Linked DNA regions of Homo sapiens: region 1 is linked to region 2. The links are contacts of gene promoters, found by promoter capture Hi-C in blood cells and fetal thymus (Javierre and others, 2016). All regions are on one chromosome and are shown on one strand. Each heading gives the region's core, a stretch centred on a gene start or on the middle of the fragment in contact. The rest is flanking DNA. Distances are from core to core; before and after follow the strand shown. Region 1 has its middle 14 kb from the start of CEBPG. Region 2 holds the start of WDR88 (WD repeat domain 88).

Region 1 (5,032 bases), core at 747-3,246, 230 kb after region 2:
CTAATGATACAAAAAGGGCTTTTTAAATACTTAGATCTTAATTTTCATTCAGAACTTATTTTCATGCACAATGCATGGTAGGTGTCTAACAACAGCAAATTGTCACTTTACCATTTATTGACTAAGCCTTTCTTCCCCCAGTAACTTAGAGGGCCAAATTTTTATCCTGTACATTCCCACATGTAACTGTCTGTGCTTTGGGGCTGTCTGTTCTGTTCCACTGGTTTATTTGCCAACTCTTGGGCCAATATCACATTCTTTTAATAAATATAACTTACTACTATATTTAGAGTTGTGCTAGAACAGTGTCTCTTCATAGTTTTTTTCCCCAAGCCTTTCAAATCCAGATGCACTGGCCTAGGCCAGGCAAAGCTCCTAAGTCAGATTCCAAGAAATATCTTTGATGGTAGTGTTCCTAGAAACAACCACACAAATACACTGGACATAATTCTATCTCCAGCCCCATGCTGCCCTGAAGTCTCACTTTTTCGTGGTCAGCTCTTTTTTTTTTTTTTTAGATGGAGTCTCACTTTTTCACCCAGGCTGGAGTGCAGTGGCATGATCTCTGCTCACTGCAAACTCCGCCTCCTGGGTTCAAATGGTTCTCCTGCCTCAGCCTCCCGAGTAGCTGGGATTACAGGTGCCTGCCACCACACTGGGATAAATTTTGTATTTTTAGTAGAGACAGGGTTTCACCAAGTTGGCCAGGCTGGTCTCGAACTCCTGACCTCAAGTGATCTGCTGGCCTCGGCCTGTCGAAGTCCTGGGATTACAGGTATAAGCCACCATGACTGGCCCAGGGTCAGCTCATTCTTTCTACTATTCTTCTTAGCTCTCATTTCACACTTAACTCTCTCTGTAAATCACCATCTCTCCATTTCCTCCTCCAGGATGAACTTTCCTTCTATTTTACAGAGCAAAACCCATGATATAGAAACCCCTTAACTTTCTAATGGCAAACCTAAAAACTTACACTTAGATCCATCTGTTTCTTTCCCTATTATTAAAATAAGAGTAGAGTCCTGCCCTCTCTCTTCCTCCTAAGCTAAAGTAAGCTCTATTGAGTGAGATCTGGTTTCCTCCCATACCCTTAGGATACAGCTCGGCTCTGTCCTCCCTGTCTGTGTTTAAACATGCCCGTCCCTCCCACTCGAACACACACATGTTCACGCACACATCTTTAGGCTCCAGATTCTCCTGCAGCCATCTTGCTATCTCCTCTCGTTCAAAGCTACACTTCTAGAAAAAGTTGTCTAACTCATTGTTTCTTCTCTCATTCATTTCTCAGCCTACTGCAAGGGCCGCTGGTCACTTCCTTACTGTTAAATCTTTACTAATATTCCTGTCTCCAGTCTTGCTCTCCTCTAAACTGTTTCTCACCATAGAAGCCAGAATAATCCTTTTAAGATGCAAATTTGGATATATGATTCCCCTCCTTAAAAGCTTTCATGACTTCTTATTGATCTCAAGATCCAGACTCCTTGACAAGGCCTCCGCCTCCAGTCTTCTCAATCCCATGAGCCCTTTCCAATCCTAAATCCTGGCCACACCAAGCCTTTCCCTGCCCCTGGCTTCCTCACTATGCGATCACCTGGTCTTTCATTCCGCACGTTTGCCTGGCTAGCTCCTACTCACCTTCAGTACTCCAGCAAGAAGACGCGAGTGACCACCCTACCACTCCTTCCCCCACCCCAAGACCACATGAAACACCCCTACTTTGTATTCTCCCGGCACCCAGCGCTTATTCCCACTACGTGGAACATTCCTTACACTGTTTACTTCTCTCTCTCTCCAACTAGATGGAAGACACTCTGACAAACGGGGTCATTTCTTAATTATTATTTAACTCCAACATTTAGCCAAGTGCCTATCGCACAGAAGATGGATTATGGCTATCCGAAATGAACGAATAGCTCCTCTATTAGCCACAGAACTCAGCATCACCTGTGACCTTTTGTTTTAACTAAAGCTATTCACTCATTCGTTCATCTTATTGCGGTAAAAACACATATCATAAAATGTACCATCTTAGCCATTTTTAAGTATACAGCTCAGTAGTGTTAAGTGTATTTACATTGTTGTGAAGCAGAACTCCAGAACGTTTTCATCTTGCGGAACTGAAACTCTGCACCCACTAAATGATTCCCCATCTCTCTCCTGCTCCCAGGCCCTGGTAACCCCCATTCTGCTGCCTCTACGAATTTGACTGTGTTAATACCTCCTATACTGAAATCATTTGGTATTTGTCCTTTTATGCCTGGCTTATTTTATTCAACGTTTATCCAGGTTGTGGCAAGTGATGGGATTTCCTTCCTTTTTAAGGCTGCATAGTATTCCATTGTGTGTATATACTATATTTTATCTGTTCACCTGTGAACATCCGTGAACATCATATTTTTACCTGTCTGTGACTTTTTATGATGATTTTCTATAGTATTTAGAATTTTGGATTTTTTGCAAGTTTCTGATTCCACAACATTCAAATATACTATTACAAAGAATACATGCAAATATATGCTTTCTATAAATACAAAGGGCTTTTTAAAATAGAAGCTTTTGTTACTATCATAAAGTTGTTCACACTTTTTGAAATAAGAAGCTCTTTTTGTTCAAATGTTTTATATTTTAACATATATTTCACTGTATCAGTCCTTTTTTTTTTCTCCACAAAAACACTTTTTATTTGAGGCAAAGAGAAGTCTTGCTGAAGGGATTACAGTTCCAAGCAGCCAAAACTCAACTGTTAGTGGCACTATTTTGACCTGGTAGATGTTGCTTCTCTTTGGTCAGAAAAGGGTATTCAGGTTGTACTTTCCCCAGTGGGGCAAAAAGGAGGGCAAAGCAAACTGGAAGAGACTTCTACTCTATTGACAGGGCTCTTCAGATCCAACATCAAGCTAGACATGCCCTTGCTGGCCACTCTACAGGTTGCTGTCCCACTGCTGAGTGACACAGGCCATGCTACATTTGCAAGGAAAAAAATGAGACAGGAAACACAGGTATAGGTCACTTAGGGATGAGCAGGCATCCACAGCTTCAAAACTCTTCATGGAAGGGGTAATCCTTGTGGGAGGCACAGCTCACCAAGGCACAGACTCTCCAATTCCTGTTGTAGCTGAGTAAGGCGGTCATATCCTGGCTGTTCAGTTCAAAGTCAAAAACCTTAAAGTTGTCAGCAATGAGTTCTGGTGTCACAGACTTGGGGATCACACCCAAATTCCTCTGCATGGGGAACCGGATCAGGACCTGGGCTGTAGTTTTATTGTGCTTGGCTGCAATCGCCTTGATCCTGGGATCCCTCAGGAGGGAAGGGTCCTCGGGGTTGACCCAGGGCCTGCTGGGAGTGCCAACGGGGCTATAGGCGGTCACCACGATGCCTTTGGACTGGCAGTACTGGATTAACTTCTCCTGAGTGAGGTAAGGGTGGCACTCAATCTGGTTAACCACAGGCTTATACTTTAAGCCAGGTTTGTTTAAGAGCCTCTCCACTTGGAGGTGGTTGAAGTTGGAGATGCCAATAGCTTTCATCAGCCATTCATCCACCAGCTCTTCCATGGCTGCCCATGTGTCCAGAATGTTGGTGTCACTGGGAACCACATTACCCAACTCATTCAATGGAAAAATTCCCTCCCAGGCTTAAAGCCAGTCGGCCAATGAATAAGGTAGAGGTCCAGGTAGTCCAGCTTCAGGCTGCTGAGGGTCTTCTGGCAGGCTCCCTTCACCAGGCCCTTCCCATGGTATGTGCACCACAGCTTACTAACGATGAAGAGCTCCTCACGCTTTACCACCTGCTCCCTGAGCTTCTCCTGAATGGCCACCCCCACCTCATTCTCATGCTAGTACACGTGGGCACAGTCAATGTGGCAGTACCCGACATTGATGGCCACATTCACGGCCTCAGTCACCCGGCCTGGAGGGGACTTCCAGGTGCCCAGCCCCAGGATGGGCATCTTGGTGCCATTGTTGAGCACAAGGTGGCTGGCCATGGCTGCTGCGCTCCCTGGAATTGTTTCATACTGTCTTGTGTGCCTTGGAAGACTTATCTCCTGTTCTCTGCCATGCTAACCAGTGCTATGTATAACCCTGCCTAGTACAGGGTGGTGAGGGAGGGGTGCCTGTCTCTTCAGCACAAGGCTACTTCCACTCCCCACTCCCAGCAAAAGCTGATCTGACCGGAACAATGATCAAAAGTAGGAAAATAACATTGGCCAGGTGCAGTGGCTCATACCTGTAATCCCAGCACTTTGGAAGGCCGAGGCAGGAGGACTGTTTGAGCCTGGGAGTTTGAGACCAGCCTGGGCAACATAGCAAAACCCCGTCTCTACAAAAAATTTAAAAATTAGCCAGGTGTGGTGGCACATGCCTGTAGCCCCAGCTACTTGGGTGGTGGAGGTGAGAGGATCCCTTGAGCCCAGGAGAGCCAAGATTGCCCCACTGCACTCCAGCCTGGGCAACAGAGCAGGACCCTGGCTCAAACAAACAAACAAACAAAACCAAAAAACCCAAACCCACCAAAAAAAAAAAGACAAAAAAAAATTAAGGAAAATAACATTGACATAATACTATTAACAGACTTACAGATCCAATCTGATTATTTTCTCGTTTTCCCACTGATGTCCTTTCTGTTCCAGAATCCATTCTAGCAGCCTATGGGACATTGTTGTCATGTCCCCTTCATCTCCTCCACTACAGAGCAGTTTCTCAGCCTTTCTTCATTTTTCATGATGATATTTTTGAACAGTACTGGCAGCTATTTCATAGAATGTTCCTCAGCTTGAGTTTCTATGATATTTCCTCATGATCGGATTGAGACTGTGTATTTGGCAAGAATGCCACATGGGAGTGAGACTGTGCACTTCTTGGTGCATTGCAGCAGGGGGTCCGTGATGTCTCCGTGTTTTATTGCTGGTGATGTGAACTGTGATCACTTAGGCTAAGATGGTGTCTTCCAGGTGCACCACTGCGCCCAGCTAATTTTTAAATACGTTTTGTAGAGAAAAGGTCTTGCTATGTTGGCCAGGCTGGTCTCAAA
Region 2 (5,405 bases), core at 1,409-3,908:
TGGAGTGAATGTATTTTAGTTCCTTCCCAAGGGTCATGCAACGGATGCGGTAGGTGAGTGAAACTGAGATTAAAAATTGCTTGTATTCTCAAGGCTAAATAAGACTAGGGAAAAAAGTTGCTTTTATAAGTGGTCTTAATACGAGGTGTGGGTGAGTGAGTCTCTGTGTGTTTTCAGGGTAATAGAAGAAGCATTTTAAGAACACAGATTGGCCGGGTACGGTGGCTCATGCCTGTAATCCCAGCACTTTGGGAGGCCGAGGCGGGCAGATCACAGTCAGGAGTTCGAAACAAGCCTGGCCAACATGGTGAAACCCCATCTGTACTAAAAATACAAAAATTAGCTGGGTATGGTGGCATGTGCCTGTAATCCCAGCTACTCTGGAGGCTGAGGCAGGAGACTTGCTTAAACCTGGGAGGCGGAGGTTGCAGTGAGCTGAGATCGCACCACTGCGCTCCAGCCTGGGCGACAAAAGTGAGACTCCATCTCGGGGGAAAAAAAAAAAAAAGCACAGATTAGGCAGTACTTCATTGTGGGTTATTGTGAGTGCATTTTGTAGGTGCAGACATGCTGCTGTGATATGGGGAGGCCTGGCATTCTCAGCCTCCACGGAGCTGTTTGGTTTTTCACTTTAGCTAACTTTCCATTTCTCTCTTTTCTGTTTTCTTTTCCAGGCTGAAAAGTCTTCCACTAAGAAGGCAGTAATTGAATGCTGCCCTGGCTCGTCCTAGAATCATTTCTCCTCCATGATGGAAGCCCAGTGATTGTTCAGTTAACGCATTGTACAGAGTGTATTTATATGTAAATTCCTGCTGTAAAATAATTTTTAAAACCTTGACATTTCAAAGACTGCCTTGAAAGGTCGCAGAAATTGATTTCTATTTTTAATTTCAGTTAGTATCGGGGGAAAAAAATCCAGACTGAACAGTTTAATTAAAGTGGAATTTTTCTATTTTCTTCTTGATTTTTAAAAAATTTCCTGGGACGTTAAAAAAGAAGTTAAAAGTGAAGGCTTCTCTCTGGTTTTGTGATGAAGACAGCCTGGACTCACTGAAGGACAAGCGTGTGAGAAGGGGCGGTTGCGGCCCCTCCTGCCGTTTTTTGGGAGTGAAGCTCTTCCCTCTCTGGGTGGCTGGGTTACTGTTGGTGCCCAGGAAGCCCCATGGGAGGGCAGAGCCAGGGCCTGGCAGGGGGCCTCAGCCTCTCAGGGTAGATGTCACTAAAGTGTCTGAGACAGGCAGGGAAACCAGGCAGGAGAATGTGCACCCACAGCCTGGGTTACACGGCTGCAGCTCCCTGCTCTGAGGCCACCTCATGTGTACCAAGGAGACCTTTTTGAAAAATAAAGTGCAGACCAGGTGTGATGGCTAATGCCTGTAATCCCAGAGCTTTGGGAGGCCGAGGCGGGAGGATTGCTTGAGCCCAGGAATTCCAGACCAGCCTGGGCCACATAGAGACCCCTGTCTCCACAAAAAATAAAGTATTGAGCATTTGTATTTTACATTATGAAAGTAGCATCATAGATCACAACAATTTTAAAAGCAGAAAGAAGGAAGAGGCCGGGTGCGGTGGCCCATGCTTGTAATCCCAGCACTTTGGGAGGCCGAGGCCAGCGGATCACTTGAGGCCAGGAGTTCAAAAACAGCCTGGCCAACATGGCGAAACCTTGTCTCTACTAAAAATACAAAAAAATTAGCCAGGTCTGGTGAGCATACACCTGTAATCCCAGCTGTGTGGGAGGCTGAGGCACGAGAATCCTTTGAACCCTGGAGGTGGAGGTTGCAGTGAGCCGAAATTGCGCTACTGCAATCCAGCCTGGGTGACAGACTCTTGTCTCCACCAAAAAAAAAAAAAAAAAAAAAGAAGGAAGAAAATCACTTTTAGTTTTATCATCCAAAGATGACACCCTTCTTCAATATTTTGAATAATTCCACCCTGTCCTTTTCTAGCTATGGGGCTGTTATCTGACTGGTGGTAGCATTTTATTCCCTGTCACTGTTGTTGGGGTTGTGACAGATATTTCCCTCATCTATTATAAATGTTGTAAACCCACCCCTAATAACTGCATCTTATTTCATGCAGGGGCTACCCCATAACTTACTGACCTTTTCTGTTTTGTCATGAAGTGGGTTGGCCAGGAGCTGTACCCAGGCAGAGGACATGAAGAAATTGCCCTGTGACAGGAGCCAGGGAAACCACAGCGGAGGGCTGGAGGCTGGGGTGCTGGTTTTGCTGGCTCGGCCTGGTTCCCAGAATGCAAAGCCCATTTTTCTTTTTTTTGCAACCTCCACCTCCTGGGTTCAAGCCATTCCCCTGCCTCAGCCTCCCATGTAGCTGGAACTACAGGCGCACGCCCCCATGCCTGGCTAATTTTTGTTATTATTTTTTTTAAGTAAAGATGGGGTTTCACTAAACCTGTTGGCCAGGCTGGTCTCCAACTCCTGACCTCAGGTAATCCGCCCGCCTCGGCCTCCCAAAGTGCCGGGATTACAGGCGTGAGCCACCGCGCCCGGCTGCAAAGCCCATTTTTCTATAGGTAACCTGTGCTGCGCGGGGTGGCACTAGTTTTCACCCAGCGGGCGAGGAGGCAGCGAAGTCGCGGGCCCAGCGTAGCGCGCGCCTCCGAAGGGCTTGGTGCGGGCGCGGGCGCGGGCGCGCGGCGCCACCGTTCCCATCCAGGCTTGTCGGCGGCCACCGGCGGACCGGGCTTCGAGATGGCCTCCCCGCCGCGGTGCTCCCCGACAGCCCATGACAGGGAATGCAAGTTGCCGCCACCCTCCGCCCCCGCCAGCGAGTATTGTCCCGGCAAGCTGTCCTGGGGGACCATGGCGAGGGCCTTAGGCCGCTTCAAGCTGTCGATCCCGCACACGCACCTGCTGGCCACCCTCGACCCCCTGGCCTTGGACAGGGAACCACCACCGCATCTGTTGCCTGAGAAGCACCAGGTGCCGGAGAAATTGATCTGGGGCGACCAGGACCCTCTCTCCAAGGTCAGAACCGCCGCTGGGGTGAGGGGGCACTGGCCTGTTCCCCACACGGGAGGAAGGCGCTCGAGCTGTCGGGGGACCCATGGAAAACCCACCTGGCTTCACCAGGACCCCCAGCGAGGCCCTAGGCCCATTTCCCCATCTGTGGTACATCTGTGGGCAAAGGTCAGACCCACCTGAGCAGGGCGTGCTGGGGATGCCGGCGGGGGCTCCCCGCACTGCCACCTGCTGGGGAACCAGGACTCTTCGCTGGGAGGAGGCTCTGCCCCACCATGTGACCCCATCTAGACCTTGGAGTCTCCGTAGGTAGGCCCACCCACAGTGATGCTCCTAATTGCAGCCCAAGGGTCGGTGGCTCAGCTCTCCCCGTCCAGGAGATACAGTTAGCGTCAGAAGAAACGGGAAACTCAGAATAATAATAACAACAATGAATTGGGCCAGGCAAGGTGGCTCACACCTGTAATCCCAGCCCTTTGGGAGGCCCAGGTGGGAGGATCACTTGAGCCCAGGAGTTTGAGACCAGCCTGGGCAACATAGTGAGAGGTCGTCTCTACAAGAAATAAACTTAGCCCAGTGTGATGGGGCGCACCTGTGGTCCCAGCCACTTGAAAGGCTGAGGCAAGAGGATCCCTTGAACCCAGGAGTTTAAGGCTGCAGTGAGCTATGATTGTGCCACTGCACTCCAGCCTGGGCAACAGAGCGAGACTGTCTCCAGAATAAATAAATAAATAAATAAATAAATAAATAAATAAATATAGAGAGAGAGAGAGAAAGAAAGAAAGAAAAAGAAAAAGAAAGAAAGAAGGAGAAAGAAAGAAAAACTGGCTGGGTGCAGTGGCTCATGTCTGTAATCCCAGCACTTTGGGAAGCCGAGATGAGCAGATCACTTGAGGTCAAGGGTTCGAGACCAGCCTGGCTAACATGGTGAAACCCTTTCTCTACTAAAAATGCAAAAATTAGCCAGGCATGGTGGTGCGTGCCTGTAATCCCAGCTACTCAGGAGGCTGAGGCAGCAAGATCATTTGAACCCGGGAGGCAGAGGTTGCAGTGAGCTGAGATCATCTCACTCCATCTCAAAAACAAAACAAAACAAAAACCCAATAAAGAACATTCTCAATAAGTAGCGTTTCATGCTTGGCCTTGATTTATTGCACTCACATGCAGATGTCAGAGTGTGTTTTTAATAATTTCCTCGAAACCTCTGCCTGGCTTCCCAGCATGTTTAAGATGAAGTCTGGCGATCTGCCTGTGGCCTTCCAGGCCATTTCAAATCTGGCACCTCTCCATGTTCTCCTCCCCCATCCCCCTGTCTTGCTGACCTACAAGCAGGTCTGGCCTCAGGGATCTTGGCGGTTCCCTGCCCCCACGGTATTGCGCTCTTGGGGAGGCCCTCCCTGACCGCCCGTCTAAAGTAGCCAGGGCCACTGTCTCCTCCGTGCCTCATGCCATGGTCTGACATCCCCGTTCCGTCCTCAAGGTGTCCTCTGGCTGCCAGCAACTGGCCCCTCGAGGTTAGGGACTTTGCTCCTAGGTGGCTGCTGAGCTGCAGCATCAGGTCCAGGCCCCATGGGGGAGGAGGCTCTTGAGGTTTATTTGTGGAATATGTGAATGAACGCTACGCATAGAAGAACCGTTTTGTTTTTGCTCTGTCCTCTGCATGAGCTTTGTCAGCACCTCTGAAATGTACTCATGTGTTGGGGACTTCTCTCTGCAGCCCCTGGGACCCCTTTACCTAGTGGATCCCAAGGGACTGTGTGCAGAAAAAAACCTGAAACGAGAGCCCCAGAAAAGCCTGTGGTGGGGGTAGCGGAATGGTTCCCCCCTCTTGCTAATGTTTTTCCATGATGGAGTTCTAGGTTTTTTGTTTTCCTATTTTTTAAATTAAATTATATATTTTTTAAATTATTAATTTTAATTTTGATTTTTTTTGTAGAGAGGGGGAGTCTCGCCATGTTGCCCAGGCTGGTCTTAAACTCCTGGCCTCAAGCAATCCTCACTCCTGGGCCTCCCAAAGCACTGGAATTGCATGCGTGAGCCACTGCACCCAGCCAATTTAATTTCAATTTTTAATGATAGTTGGGTTTTCCTAATGAGAGAGATAACCCAAACCCTGCAGGGGCGGCAGGGGCTGGGGTCGCCAGAGGCGGGGGCGGTGCGGGAGGGCCGCGCAGGTCATGTCCCGGGGACTGGGGCCGCTCCTGGGGTAGGGAGCCAACCCTGCACGCGCGGCCCCGGCCTGGCCCGACGGGGTTAGCGAACTCCCCCGGAGAAAAGCCCGGTCCCAGCTCTCCACGCTCCCTGGCAACGGAGCCCGCGTTCCAGTGTCCTCGTGTCCCCGAGCCCCCTAGAGGCGGGGTATCATCTCATCCCCTGCATCTCCACCTGCACGTCCCCGACACCCCCCCCCCCGCCCCGCAT

Evidence for each region. The method cuts DNA at HindIII sites, captures the fragments that hold promoters and counts their contacts. A CHiCAGO score of 5 or more calls a contact.
Region 1: a contact is called between a fragment that was not itself captured here and the fragment with the promoter of WDR88 in region 2, in 1 of 17 cell types (neutrophils). The highest score is 5.6, in neutrophils.

The regions. Positions count from the first base shown.
Region 1 is chr19:33,357,461-33,362,492 of GRCh38, forward strand. It overlaps the pseudogene AKR1B1P7. Among named protein-coding and RNA genes, the nearest start is that of CEBPG, 14 kb to the right of the region's middle. The HindIII fragment of the contact is 1,110 bases long and covers 1,442-2,551 here.
Region 2 is chr19:33,129,456-33,134,860 of GRCh38, forward strand. WDR88 (WD repeat domain 88) reads left to right here and starts at 2,659. Exons shown (of 11, transcript NM_173479.4): 1 at 2,659-2,990. The coding sequence starts at 2,715. GPATCH1 (G-patch domain containing 1) reads left to right here. Exons shown (of 20, transcript NM_018025.3): 20 at 675-1,087. The coding sequence ends at 705. RefSeq lists an enhancer at 2,496-2,665 and a silencer at 5,303-5,405. The HindIII fragment of the contact is 21,697 bases long and covers 1-5,405 here.